3 separate regions of the Homo sapiens genome follow, and regions 1 and 3 are each linked to region 2. The links are contacts of gene promoters, found by promoter capture Hi-C in blood cells and fetal thymus (Javierre and others, 2016). All regions are on one chromosome and are shown on one strand. Each heading gives the region's core, a stretch centred on a gene start or on the middle of the fragment in contact. The rest is flanking DNA. Distances are from core to core; before and after follow the strand shown.

Region 1 (4,838 bases), core at 1,240-3,739, 260 kb after region 2:
GTCGCCCAGGCTGGAGTGCAATGGTGTGATCTCAGCTCACTGCAACCTCTGCTTCCCAGCTTCAAGTGATTCTCCTGCCTCAGCCTCCCAAGTAACTGGGATCACAGGCATGCGCCACCAGGCCTGGCTAATTTTTGTATTTTTAGTAGAGATGGGGTTTCACCACATTGGCCAGGCTGGTTTCGAACTCCTAACCTCAGGTGATCCACTCACCTCAGCCTCTCAAAGTGCTCGGATTACAGGCATGAGCCACCGCGCCTGACCGTTTTCTTTGTTTGTTTCTTTGTTTTTGAGACAGAGTCTTGCTCTGTTGTCCAGGCTGGAGTGCAGTGGCACAATTTCAGCTCACTGAAGCCTCTGCCTCCCAGGTTCAAGCGAATCTCCTCCCTCAGCCCCCTGAGTAGCTAGGATTACACGCGACTACCACCACACCCAGCTAATTTTTGTATTTTTAGTAGAGACGGGGTTTCACCATGTTGGCCAGGCTGGTCTCGAACTTCTGACCTCAAGTGATCCACCTGCCTCAGCCTCCCAAAGTGTCGGGACTATAGGTGTGGGCCACTGCAGCCTGCCTAACCTCCCCTCTTACAAGGACAGAGGTCAGACTGGACCAGGAGCCTCCACCTCCAGTATAACCTCAGCTCCATCCTTGGCAAAAACCCAATTCCCAAATAAGGTCCCATTCTGAGGCCCTGGAGGTCAGGACTTCTGCGCTTCCCTTTCTGGGTGACAATTCAACCCACAACAGGGCCCAATCCAGAGTGTGTCTCTCCACTGCAGACCCCCTCAAGGCTGCTCCAGAGGACGGGGTGCCGAAGGGGAGGGAGGCCAAGCGGGAGGCTGGGCCTGCGGCCTCTGGGGCACAGCAGCTGTATTTCTGGCCGGTTCAGTGGGAGGCTGGAGGGCCGGATCGGGTGGGCCTGGGGCGGCAGGGGCACCACAGTGCCACTCAGAAGGGCAGGAGCAGAGCCCTGGGAGGGCAGGGAGCAAACCCTGAGCGGGCCTGGCTGGGGGGTTGCTGGCACAGTGGGCAGCTGTTGGGTGGGTTGGGGGAGGGGGTGGTGATGTCTCTTGGGGGGTCAAGGTGCCCGAGTTGCAGGCCCTGGAGGGCTGGGGCTGGCCAGGGCTGCCATCTCACGCTGCTGGGGGAGGCAGAGGGAGGGACGGAGCCATGCAGGGCCTTCCAGTGCTTTCCCACGCTGAGGTGGCTTCGGGGACACAGCCCTGAGGACACACAGGCCTGCGCCCAGCCCCCTTCTCCCCTCGTAGTGGCCCAGGCTGTACCCCGTACACGGCAGCTATGGGCACTATGGGGACACTCAGGCCCCAGCAGGAGTCAGAAGGTAGAGATGGCGGGAGGCCCCCCACTTCCGTGAGGTGCCTGGCCCCTGCCCCCTTCCTGGCTCTGTCTACACCCAGGCATCTCATCTCTCCCACACCGGGGGCTCCTGGCTCTGGAAGCCAATTCCTCCCTTATCAGCAGCGGCAGCCTTTGGGTGCCACGTCGGGGTCTTGGCCCCTCTCTGTCTGCCCGCGTCTGTCTCCTCTCTCCTCCCGTCAACTTGGGGCTCTCGCCACCCAGTGCCCGCCCCCCCCACCCCATGCTCCCGTTCACGCTCTCTTTCTCTCCAGCCTCCTTCCAGCGCCAATCCTGGTTGCCATGGAAACACTGCAGCGGGTACCAGGTGGTGGCTGGGGGCAGGGAGCCTGCGCTGCCGCAGCCTGCGCCATTTCCGATGCCAGGCACCCTCAAGGCACAGAGGCTGGGGCTCATGTTGGGGGCACTTGGCCTCTCCAGGCCTCGAAGGCTTCTCCTGGGCTGACGCGAGCTGGGGAACGGGAGGGACGGACGTGGGAGCGAGAACGTCACACTGGAGGCAGCTGGTGGCACGATGGGGGACAGAGTGAAAGGTAGCAAGTCAAGGTGAACTGAAGGATGATCAGAGCGGAGGGAGGCTGTGGACAGGGGCGGAGGCTGTGGGAAGGGGACCCGTGCTGCGCAGCGGGGCTAGGGAGGTTGGACCCGCTGAGGCAAGGGCACATTGAGGAGAAGCCACAACCAGGGCTCCCGCTGCCTCTGGGAGGGCTAGGGCCACGGCCAGGCTGAAGCCTCCCTCAGACCTTAGCCGCCTGAGGACAAGGAGGAGAGGTGAGCACGAGGGGACAGACAGAGCCCAGAGTCCCTGTCACCATCTCTTCTCCCAACCCAAAGCAAGATGCAGTTTCCATGACAACCTGGCCGGCCAGAGAGGGGGCAGGGGACTGCAGAGGAAACTTTCCACATCAGCAGGGAGAAAGAGGGTGTGCTGCAGGGGAAAGGGGGGCACGCAGGGTTCCCAGAACCCCCGGTCACCATGCTCACTGTGCTGGACCCGGGAAAGTGGACAGAGCACAGGGAAGGGTTCTCCCGCCTCCACTCCCGCAGGCCCACGCCCCCACGCTGGGCCTGCGGGGAAGGGGGAAGACTGAGCCCAGAGGCTCAAGGGTCAGATGTCCAAAGAGCAGCGGCTGCCCAGGCCTTGTGCAGCGGGCAGCGAGCAGCCCAGGGAGCCAGGCCCCAGACACCGCACTCAGGGCCATGGCCGACAGGGGCCCGTGGAGGGTGGGCGTGGTGGGCTATGGCCGCCTCGGTGAGTCCCTGACCATCCTTGGCCTCCTTCCCCAAACCCCTTCCTAAAGCTCCCAAGACTCTCTGCCCTCCACAAACACTTTTTTCTCTCTCTATCTGCCCCTGGCTGTGTCTCTGGGTCTGCCCACTGCACCCCCACCCCAGGTCTCTGTCCTCTCCGTCTCTGTCTCCCTTCTCTCTGGGCCTCTGTCCACCCCACTGTGTCTCTGCCCTGCCCCCATCTCTGTCTCCCTACCCCGCAATCTGAGTCTGTCCCCACCTCCTCTCTCTCTGGGTCTCTGTCCCCACCTCCTCTCTCTCTGGGTCTCTGTCCCCCTCTCTCTGGATCTCTAGCCCTCTCCTTTCCCTCTCCCCAGGACAGTCCCTCGTCTCCCGCCTCTTGGCTCAGGGACCAGAACTTGGCCTAGAACTTGTTTTTGTCTGGAATCGTGACCCAGGACGAATGGCAGGGAGCGTGCCCCCTTCCCTGCAGCTCCAGAACCTTGCTGCCCTTGGGGAAAGGTCAGTGACCTTGCCATGGGAGAGTGGAGCTCCCTGAAGCTCCTGTCCTGGCTCTCTTAGCCACTGTGTGATCTCAGGGGTTCCCTGACCCTCTCTGGGCCTTGGTTCAAGCAAATGTGAAACAGGACGAACCCATTCATCTCATTTCGCCTCCCAGGTCAGGGAGAAGAAGGGCAGCCCTCAGTAGACTCGGAGGGAACCTTGGGGAGAAGAGGCCTAATACCTCTCCAAGACCCTCCGCCCTCTTTCCCCTCTCCCAGGCGCCCTGATCTGGTTGTGGAAGTGGCCCATCCCAAAATAATCCATGAATCTGGGGCACAAATCCTGCGCCATGCCAATCTCCTGGTAAGCCCCACCCCAACCATTTACGCAGAGCCCTGCCCCTTCTGTCTTGGTCTCACCCCACCCTGAAGTGGATATCCTTCCCTGACCTCAACCCTCCCCTCCTTCATCCACCCCAGGTGGGGTCCCCCTCAGCTCTAAGTGACCAGACCACAGAGCGGCAGCTCTTGGAGGCCTCACAGCACTGGGACCACGCCGTGTTTGTGGCCCGAGGGGCCCTGTGGGGCGCTGAGGACATCAGGAGATTGGATGCAGCTGGGGGCCTCCGGGTGAGGCCTGCTGGGCTCCCCAGGAACCAGGGGAGGCCTGCAAAGACCCCACTCCCCCTAACCCGGGCTCTTGCTTCCAGAGCCTTCGTGTCACCATGGCCACACACCCCGATGGCTTCCGGCTTGAGGGACCCCTGGCTGCAGCCCACAGCCCTGGGCCTTGCACTGTGCTCTACGAAGGCCCTGTCCGTGGGCTCTGCCCCTTTGCCCCGCGAAATTCCAACACCATGGCGGCGGCTGCCCTGGCTGCCCCCAGCCTGGGCTTCGATGGGGTGATTGGGGTGCTCGTGGCTGATACCAGGTGAGCAGAGCTAAGCAGGGTGTTGGGCTGAGTCCAGGCTCTCCAGACTGACTGCCCCTCTTGTCCCAGCCTCACGGACATGCACGTGGTGGATGTAGAGCTGAGCGGACCCCGGGGCCCCACGGGCCGAAGCTTTGCTGTGCACACCCGCAGAGAGAACCCTGCCGAGCCAGGCGCGGTCACCGGCTCCGCCACCGTCACGGCCTTCTGGCAGAGCCTCCTGGGTGCGGCCAGGCCCCTCTCCCCCGGCCCTGGGCTCCTGTGTTCTGCAGAGCTTGGGGGTCCCGGGCTCTCACTAGTTCTGCAGTTCTGGTTCTGTATTTGTTGACCTTTCTTTCTTTCTGACCTTTATTTCCTTAACCTCTCTCCATGACTTTGAATCCTGGCACTGTAGATGTCTCCATTTGTGCCCGCCTCTGATCGAGACTCTCTCTGTCTCTGTCCACCCCCAGGGCTCTGTCCCGCTCTCTCCGGGTCTTCCTCCACCGCCCCCCTGCCCTGTCCCCTCCTCCCACCACTGCCTCCCCCAGGCGTCTGTCTCCTCATCTCTCCTCTGTCTCATTCGCTCATTCCCCTCTCCCCGCAGCCTGCTGCCAGCTCCCCTCCAGGCCGGGGATCCATCTCTGCTGAGAAGCCTCCTCCCTCCCGAGACAAGATCATCTGCCTGGCCTCTCACCACCACCATCCCACCCCTGCCCTGCCCCACTTCCCCAGGGTCTCCCTTCTGACTCAGTAAAGATCACCGCTGCCTCCCCCCGCACCGCCTGGCGTCTCTGATCCCTTTCCCTTGTGTGAC
Region 2 (4,801 bases), core at 1,320-3,819:
AAGCGGGCAGATCATTCAAGGTCAGGATTTTGAGACCGGCCTGGCCAACATGGAGAAACCCCATCTCTACTGAAAATACAAAATTAGCCTGGCATGGGGTGGCACATGCCAGCTACTCAGGAGGCTGAGGTGAGAGGACCACTTGAGCCTGGGAGATTGAGGTGGCAGTGAGTTGTGATCACACCACTGCACTCCAGCCTGAGCAACAGAGCAAGACCCTATCAGAAAAAAAAAAAAAACTTATATTTTTAAGCCTCTAAACATGGAAGGTTTTTGTTACACAGCAAAAGGTAACTGATACATCTGCATTCCGGACAATAGAAAGGGGGAAATGGGGAAATGGAGGGCAGACCCCTTCCATTTAAGGGGCCCTTGAAGGAAGTTACATTGATTGCTGCCTCTTACATCCTATTGGTCAGAAAGCAGTCACATGGTTGTACCTACATGCAAAGGATACTGGGAAATGTAGTCTTTCCTTTTTTCTAGTTAAGCACCGTGCCTCATTAGAACACAGGAGTTTTACTACCAAAAAAGGGGAGGCCAGGTGCTGTGGCTCACACCTGTAATCCCAGTAGTTTTGGGAGCCGAGGCTGGAGGATCACTTGAACTCAGGAGTTTGAGACCACTCTGGGCAACATGATGAAACCCCGTGTCTACAAATTACCCAGGTAGCACATGCCTATAGTCCCAGGTACTAGGCAGGGTGAGGGGAGGTGGGGGGTGGGGCGTGGGGAGTCCTGAGGCAGGAGAATGGCTTGAGCCCTGAAGGTCAAGGCTGCAGTGAGCCGAGATTTTGCCACTGCGCTCCAGCCTGGGTGACAAAATCAGACCCTGTCTTTAAAAAATTTTTAAAAAAAAGAAAAAGAGAGGGAAAGAATGGGCCAGGTGCAGTGGCTCACGCCTGTAATCCTAGCCCTTTGGGAGGCCGAGGCAGGCGGATCACAAGGTCAGGAGATTGAGACCATCCTGGCCAACGTGGTTAAACCCCGTCTCTACTAAAAAATATACAAAAATTATCTGGGCGTGGTGGCACGTGCCTGTAATCCCAGCTACTCGGGAGGCTGAGGCAGAATTGCTTGAACCAGAAAGTCAGAGGTTGCAGTGAGCCGAGATCGCGCCACTGCAGTCCAGCCTGGTGACAGAGCAAGACTCTATCTCAAAAAAAAAAGGGGGGGGGGGCGGGGAAGAATGGACACTGGGGAGTAAGTAGCTGTCTCTACCACAGAGCTTTAGATGAGGGGTTGCTGGAAGACTTCCTGAAAGAAGAGGCAGGATTTGGCAGGGTTTTAGAAGCCAGTCAAGGTAAGAGGCCACAAGCAAACTAAGAAGGACGGCTTCCAGCTTCCAGCTGAAGTCTTCCATCATTCCCGGGGGGCGTTGCCACGGGGACAGGATGACAGAAACTCCTCCTCTCCAAACGCCCTCGCCAGGGCAGAAGTCAAAGACTGGAAAAACTTTTCTTGGAAATCTCTGCCAACGAAGACGTAGAGGAAGGGGTTGAGGCTGCTGTTGACACAGCCCAAGGCAAAGCTAGCCTGGAGGATGAGCAGCATCCGGGGGTGGTAGATTTCCTTGAGCATCACCCGTCGCCACAGATGGACCAACAGCACCACGTTAAACGGGGACCAGAAGATAAAGAAAGCGCTCACCAGCACCAGCAGCAGCCTCTTGGGCCGGTTGGCATGGACCCAGCCCTCCCGCAAGAGCTTGGCCCGGATGAGGTGGGCGCAGGTGCCTATGATTGCTAAGGGCCCCAGGAAGCCCAGCAGGAAGTGGCCAATGGTCCCTATAATGTGTCCCTCCACGACCCCTTCAATCCAAATCTGGGCAGTCTCATTGTCAGAGTTGAACGCCAAGTAGCAGTGCGTACAGCCATTCCATTTTCTGGTTGTCCGGAATTTCAGGTGCGCAGAGCACAAGGCGGCGGCCAGGAGCCACACCCCAAAGGCCAGCCAGCTCGCCCGCTGCACAGTGCGGTGGTTCAGGGCCCAGACGGGGTAGAGGACAGAGATGCAACGGTCCACAGAGATGAAGACAAGGAGGCAGTTACTGGCAAAGTAGCTGAGGAACACAAAGGTGATGTAGAGTTTGCAGGCCCACTCTCCGAGGAGCCACTGCCTGGAGACAATATAGTACATGGCAATGGGCAGAGACAGTGAGAGCATGAAATCGGCAAGGGCCAGGTGGAAGAAGCAGACGGTGGAGACCGTGCGTGCCATACGGAAGACAGTCATCCACAGCACCAGCCCATTGCCCAGCACTCCGACGACAATGGACGCAGACAGGATAACCACAGTCAGTGGGCGGAGGGACCCCACCTCCTCAGACAGGCATCCGGAAGAGTTCATCTTCCTGGAACAAGAGCGATCACGTGTCAGGACCCCAGGTTGCCTGTCACTGCAGCCTCTGGTCCCCTCCGAGACCCCATTCATGATTTCTCCATTCCATAATTTTTATGGAATGCTTATTATTATTATTCTTTTAGAGACAGCGTCATGCTCTGTCACCCAGGCTGGAGTGCAAAGGTACAATCACAGATCACTGCAGCCTCCACCTCCTAGGCTCAAGAGATCCTCCCCCCTCAGCCTCCTGGAGTAGCTGGGACTACAGGCACTTACCACCATGCCTGGCTAATTTTTTTACCTTTTTTTTTTTTTTTTTTTTTTGACACAGAGTCTTGCTCTCTCTGTCACCCAGGCTGTAGTGCAATGGTATGATCTCGGCTCACTGCAACCTCCACCTCCAAGGTTCAAGCAATTTTCCTGCCTCAGCCTCCCAAGTAGCTGGAACTACAGGCACATGCCACCACACCTGGCTAATTTTTCTGTTTTTAGTAGAGACAGGGTTTTACCATGTTGGCCAGGCTGGTCTTGAACTACTGACCTCGTGACCCGTCCACCAGCCTCCCAAAGTGCTGGGATTATAGGTGTGAGCCACTCTGCCAGGCCTTAAATTCTTTTTTGTAGAGATGGGGTTTTGCTGTGTTGCCCAGGCTGGTCTTGAACTCCTGGCTTCAAGTGATCCTCCCACCTCAGCCTCCCAAAGTGCTGGGATTACAAGTGTGAGCCATTGAGCCCAGCCTGAATGCTTTTTATGACACAATAATATTGTTCTTTTTTTTTTTTTTTTTTTGAGACAGAGTCTCCTTATGTCACCCAGGCTGCAGTGCAATGGCACGATCTCGGCTCACTGGACACTATAATATTGTTCTAAGTACTGGACATAACTCGTGTAACAAAACAAGCCCTCATGGAACTTACATCCCAGTGAGAGATGTCAGGTGTAATACATATAATAAATTTACTTCATGATATACTGCTTTAGAAGACTACAAGTGTTATGGAAAAATAATAAATGAAATGGAGGGGCCAGGTGTGGTGGCTCATGCTTGTAATCACAACACTTTGGGAGGCTGAGGCAGAAGGATTGCTTGAAGCCAGGAGTTCCAAACCAAGGTGGGCAACATAGTGAGACCGTCTCTACAAAAAATAAATAATTACAAGTTTTTGTGGCCATGCACAGTGGCTCACGCCTGTAATCCCAGCACTTTGGGAGGCTGAGGTAGGCGGATCACCTGAGGTCAGGAGTTCGAGATCAGCCTGCCCAGCATGGCGAAACCCCGTCTCTACTAAAAATACAAAAAACATTAGCTGGGTGTGGTGGCAGCCACCTGTAATCCCAGCTACTCATGAGGCTGAAGAATCACTTAAACTTGGGAGGCGGAGGTTGCAGTGAATCAAGATCGCGCCACTGCACTCCAGCCTGGGTAACGAGAGCGAAACTCCGTCTCAAAAAAATAAAAATAAAATAAAATTTAAAAATTAGCCGTGAGATGGGCGTAGTGGCTCATTCCTGTAATCCCAGCACTTTGGGAGGCTGAGGCTGGTGGATCACTTAAGTTCAGGAGTTCGAGACCAGCCTGGCCAACATGGCAAAAGCCTGTCTCTACTAAAAATACAAAAATTAGCCAGGCTTGGTGGTGCGTGCCTGTAATCCCAGCTACTCTGAAGGCTGAGGCAGGAGAGTCCCTTGAACCTGGGAGGCAGGGGCTGCAGTGAGCCAAGATCGTGCCACTTCATTCCAGCCCAGGCAACAGAGCAAGACTCTGTCTCAAAAAAAAAAAAAAAAAAAATTAGTCAGGTATGGTGGCACGTGCCTGTAGTCCCAGCAAATTGGGAGACTGAGACACGAGGGTCACTTGAGCCCTGGAATTCGAGGCTGCAATGAGCCATGGTCACGCCATTTCACTTCAGCCTGGGTGATAAAGCGAGACCCTGTCTCAATAAAAATAAAGTAAAAATAATGAGATGGAGGTTCTTTTAACTTTGGATAATGTCAGAGTAACTTTGTCAGACAAATGGTGCCACAGACAAAAAAAAAATTAAAATCTGGACAAAATATTAAAAATTACTCCACTATTTGAAAAAATTGGCAGCAGAAAAGTCTGTCAATCCAGAATTTTATATTCTGTGAAAATATCTTTCAAAAATGAAAGTGAAAAAAGGGCATTTTCAGATAAGCCAGATCTGAAATAATATATGGCCTACAGACCGCAGGAATTGCTTAAGGAAGTAAGTCCTCTAGGCTGAAAGGAGTTAATATCACATGGTGACACATATTGACAGGAAGAAATGAAGATCATGAAATGTTTTCTTTAGAAAAAGATCAAGGTAAGGCCAAGCGCAGTGGTTCACATCCGTAATCCCAGCACACTGGGAGGCCGAGGTGAGCAGATCACTTGAAGTCAGGAGTTCGAGACCAGCCTGGCCAACAAGGCAAAACCCCGTCACTAATAAAAATA
Region 3 (4,560 bases), core at 1,284-3,783, 290 kb after region 2:
GAGCTGCCGCTGTGACAGGGACAAGGTACCATCCTGCTGGTTCCAGAGCAGTGAGCCCCGCTTCCGGAAGTTGGCACTGTCATCTGTGAGGAGCTCAGGTTCAGAGACGCCCCCTCCCCCGCCCACCCTTCAACCCAGGCAGGGGCCAGGAGGTCCAGCTTCAAATTTTGGCCTGGCCTCCACCCGAGTGACCAGGTTCCCTCCCCATCTGGGCCCCCATTTTGCTATCTGCAAAGTGGGGACACCTCCACCATGTTCCACCTCACAAGGCAACCCGTAGCAGATGCATGAACCCCACAGCTCCCAAATCCTGCCTCTGCCTCACCAGGTGACCCAGGGATAGCCACACAACCTCTCTGAGCCTCAGCTTCCCCAACTGCAAAATACGGAGGCTGTGGAGTTCAGGAATTCCCAACTACCTGGCCATGTCAGAATCAGGGGAGCTGTTCACTGAGCAGATGCCAGGGTTTGCAGAGGGGCACCAGCTTCAGGGTTTGTGCCCTCAGGTTCGGGGCCTCAGACTCGATTACTACACTCTGGGCAGCACTGACGTCCAGCTCTGGGAACCTGGACACCTGCATCATGGCAATTTAAGTTTGGGTTTGAAGCTGGCCCCTGCTCTGCCACTCACTCACGATGAGACCTTGTGTGGTGCCTACTCTGAGCCCGTTTCCTCTTCTGGAAAAAGGGGCTGACACGAATACCTACCACCTCACATGGCTGCTGTGAGGACATCTGAGTTAATACTTGCAAAGCGTGGAACCGCTAATGCTGGGCACGTGGCGACTGATCAGGAAAGCCGCTCTGAAATTATTACTGCTGTGATGACCTTTTAAAAACTGAGGTTTGTCTCACAGGCAAGGGGGCATTTAAAGAGTGTTTCTCTTCTTTCATGTCCCACTTTCCCCTAACCTGAGGCAAATCTGTTAGTAAATGGTTGTTAGTAAATGTCATACGACGGGAGGCACCCAGACTCCAAGTCTTGACTTCTCAGGGCACCAATGTTAAGTGTCTAGGAGAGGACGTTGCCTGACTCACCGATCTCAAATGAGTGCTCCAGCAGCAGCCCCACCGTGCCACAGGCCTCGCCCTCTCGACCTTCCGCCCCAGCCTGCAGAGGACACAGAAGGCCCCAGGTGAGGACCACCCAAGCCCTCAGCATAGTAGTCACCCACAGAACCCAGGACAGACAGACTGGTGGGCTGAGGGAGGAGCCTTATCTTCAAGTTAATCACTGCTGCTTGCCTTTATTTCACTAGAAACCACCCATTTCATGAATATTCATACTCTGCACTCCCTCACCCCCAGAAAACCAGACCCTACAAACATGCCTAACCTCATTGCCAAAGCAACTATCCCAAGGTCACTTCCAAGCCTTGCGCCACAAATACTCATGAGTTAAATGACACTCTCCCTCTCCCAAGCCTTCTTTTTCATGCTAATATTCAAATGGCCTCCTTATCACCTGACAGCCCAATAGCCAAGATGCAGCCTGAGTTCAGTCCCTATTAAGCACATTCAAGATTCATGCTTTCCTTTTCTCCAACCTCCAAACTTGCATACTCACGCATATTTAGGAGACAAAACTCATCTCCACTTCCTCAAGAGCCCCCTCCCACGCCTTATTTTCTTTTTCTGAGACAGGGTCTCGCTCAGTCGCCCAGGCTGGAGTGCAGTAGCGTGATCTCAGCTCCCTGCAACCTCTGCCTCCTGGGTTCAAGCGATTCTCCTGCCTCAGCCTCCCGAGTAGTTGGAATTACAGGCACCTGCCACCACATCCAGCTAATTTTTGTGTTTTTAGTAGAGACGGGGTTTCACCATTTTGAGCAGGCTGGTCTTGAACTCCTGACTTCAAGTGGTCCGCCCGCCTCGGCTTCCCGAAGTGCTGGGATTACAAGCATGAGCCACCGCGACCGGCCTAATTTTTTTTTTTTTTTTAGTATTTTTTGTAGAGACAGGGCTCGCTATGTTGCCCAGGCTGGTCTTGAACTCCTGGCCTAGAGCAATCCTCCCGCCTCGGCCTCCCTAAGCGTTGGGATGACAGATGAGCCACCGCGCCCGGCTTCACCTTGCCTCTTTCATTTCAACCGCCCGGACGTCGGATTCTCCAAGATTCCACACCCCCAGCCCCGCCCCCTCATACATATTCCCGAGCCAGAGCCTTCCGACAGGTGCGCTTGTCCTCCCACCCAGTCCTTGCAACCCGGTGCACTGGCGAGGCCCCTCCTGCGCGTGCGTGACTGAGGCCTGGCTTTCCAGGGATCTCCCACCTCTTCCCTCTCAGCCCTGCGCAGCCTCCTTCCGTCTGTAACTCACCTAAAGACCCAAGACCTGCGACATCCGTAGACCGCGCCCGCTATGCACAGCTAAAGAGCACTCACCCCTCGCGCACCAGTCCCGGCCCGGCAGCCGCTGCCCCGGGCTCGACTGGGCGCTGCTACCGCCATCAGCAAGAGCAGGAGCAGCCGGGTTGCCCCAGCGCTGGCTGCCGCCATCTCGGCTTCTTCCCACCAGCGAAGGGACGGCTGTGAGCCAAGAGCCGCGGAGCACGCCGGGAGGAACAGGCCGCATCCTGACGCCCGTGCGCCTGCGCTGGGCCCCGGCACCTGCGCACTGGCACCCGTCCGCACCTGGGGCCTGACGTCAGCAGGATGGGGCCGCCCCTTTGGCCTGATCTCCAGGAGCCGCCCCCTCCAGGGACGTCATCACAAATCAGGAGCCCGCTCTTGTGTGACGTCATAAAGCCCGCTCCGCATCATGACGTCACAGTGCGCGTAGTCCCGCCCCCTCGCTTTCTCCCTCTGCTCCTCCGTCCGCTCCCGTCGGACGGGGACATTGCAATGAGGCGGGATCGCGGCCCTAAGCCGGCCCTGGGTGGAGCTGGCGAGGTGGAACCAGGTGGGATGGCAGGTGAGAGAGGGGAGCCAGGCCTAGAGGGGTTGGACCTGGTGAAGGAACCAAGTAGGATGGGGCCGGCAATTCGGGGGCATCTGATACCCCGTCCTCTCCGCGGGGCTGTGCCGGGCCCTCTCAGTTGGGAAGCCAGGCACAGCCTCCCAGGATCGACCCCCAGACTTCGTCCTGGTAAAATGCCTCCTGGTTGCAGCCTCTCCCACGGGCCGTCCCAGACGGCTCCAACGCTACCTCCAGAGCGGCGAATTCGACCAGTTTCGGGACTTCCCCATCTTTGAGAGCAACTTCGTACAGGTAGGGAGCCCCAGAACCCCCTCATCCCCAGCCTCGGCCTGCCCCTCGACCTCCTCCTGACTTGGAAAGCCCCTGCTCCCCCATAACGTCCATCTCGTGGGATTCCCGACTCCCAACTCCTATGTGATCTCTGACACCCCATACTTCTAGTTCTCTAGATTCTTTGTGAACCCTGGCCTGTAACTCCCTTGCCTCAGTTTCCCTGACTTCACACCCATATGATTCTTGAACTTTAATTTCAAGATATCTGGCCCCCAGCCTGATTTTCAACTCACCTGGTTCATGACCTTTTCCCCTACCAAGATTCCTAACCTCTGATCCCTCCTCAGTTCTGCCCCGACATCTATCCTGCCCCGACCTCTGACCTCTGGCCCCAGGTGACTCGGTTGGGAGAAGTTGCCAACGAGGTCACCATGGGGGTGGCAGCCTCCAGTCCAGCCCTGGAGCTCCCGGACCTATTGCTTCTGGCCGGCCCTGCCAAGGAGAACGGACACCTGCAACTCTTCGGGTAACTGCCCCCACCTCAGCCGAGACCCCTTCCTCCCTCAGCTCCAGGCACCTGAGCCCCCAGCAGTACCTCCCCTCGTCCAGACCACCCCCAGGGCCAGGAGCTGGCAGTGCTACCGGCCCTCCCTGAGCTGCCATCTACCCGGGAGAACAAGGACAGAGCAGCCCTCAGGGGCCAGAAATCAGAGATTAGACAGACCTGAAGGGGACAGTCCTCAGCCATGCCCCAGCAGCGGTCAGGAGAATGATCATTTCCGCAGGGCCTGCTCATGCCAGACGCCCCTAGGCCGCGCATACGATCTCACCTCTGACCTCATATCTTCACATGGTGGGGTCCCTTAGCCCCATCCGCCAAAGAGCTAAACTGAGGCTCAGAGAGCCGGGAGCCAGTTGCCCAGGGTCCCACTGTGGCTCCAGAGTGGGCCAGGATTGGAATGCCAAGCTTGTCATGATTGTGGATCTCATGGTTCTTGAGCCCTCCTGTGCCTCACTCCACACTGCCCCTTTACGTCATATTTTTTCATTGAAAAAGTAATGCAGATCGGGTGCGGTGGCCCACACCTGTAATCCCAGCACTTTGGGAGGCCAAGGCAGGCAGATCATTTGAGGCCAGGAATTTGAGACCGGTCTGGCCAACATAGCAAAACCCTGTCTCTACCAGAAATACAAAAAATTAGCCAGGGCCGGGTGCGGTGGCTCACGCTTGTAATCCCAGCACTTTGGGAGGCTGAGGTGGGTGGATCACGAGGTCAAGAGAACGAGACCATCCTGGCTAACACAGTGAAACCCCGTCTCTACTAAAAATACAAAAAATTAGTCGGGCGTGGTGGTGAGCGCCTGTAGTCC

Evidence for each region. The method cuts DNA at HindIII sites, captures the fragments that hold promoters and counts their contacts. A CHiCAGO score of 5 or more calls a contact.
Region 1: the fragment with the promoter of ASPDH here is called in contact with the fragment with the promoter of GPR32 in region 2 in 5 of 17 cell types (naive CD4 T cells, fetal thymus, naive B cells and 2 more); the score reaches 6.7 in naive CD4 T cells.
Region 3: a contact is called between the fragment with the promoter of EMC10 here and the fragment with the promoter of GPR32 in region 2, in 8 of 17 cell types (total B cells, naive CD4 T cells, naive B cells and 5 more). The highest score is 14.0, in total B cells.

The regions. Positions count from the first base shown.
Region 1 is chr19:50,511,564-50,516,401 of GRCh38, reverse strand. ASPDH (aspartate dehydrogenase domain containing) reads left to right here and starts at 2,489. Exons shown (of 7, transcript NM_001114598.2): 1 at 2,489-2,630; 2 at 2,986-3,130; 3 at 3,391-3,475; 4 at 3,592-3,741; 5 at 3,822-4,042; 6 at 4,112-4,266; 7 at 4,629-4,799. The coding sequence starts at 2,579. The coding sequence ends at 4,672. All of the region lies in intron 1 of LOC124904747 (a long non-coding RNA gene), which reads right to left. RefSeq lists an enhancer at 4,017-4,606. The HindIII fragment of the contact is 8,504 bases long and covers 1-4,176 here.
Region 2 is chr19:50,768,232-50,773,032 of GRCh38, reverse strand. GPR32 (G protein-coupled receptor 32) reads right to left here and starts at 2,569. Exons shown (of 1, transcript NM_001506.2): 1 at 1,301-2,569. The coding sequence starts at 2,432. The coding sequence ends at 1,362. The HindIII fragment of the contact is 17,473 bases long and covers 1-4,801 here.
Region 3 is chr19:50,474,480-50,479,039 of GRCh38, reverse strand. EMC10 (ER membrane protein complex subunit 10) reads right to left here and starts at 2,533. Exons shown (of 7, transcript NM_206538.4): 1 at 2,382-2,533; 2 at 1,039-1,111; 3 at 1-83. The coding sequence starts at 2,495. GARIN5A (golgi associated RAB2 interactor 5A) reads left to right here and starts at 2,192. Exons shown (of 5, transcript NM_001308429.2): 1 at 2,192-2,910; 2 at 3,107-3,207; 3 at 3,537-3,715. The coding sequence starts at 2,652. RefSeq lists enhancers at 2,329-2,528, 2,395-2,895. The HindIII fragment of the contact is 4,707 bases long and covers 1-4,158 here.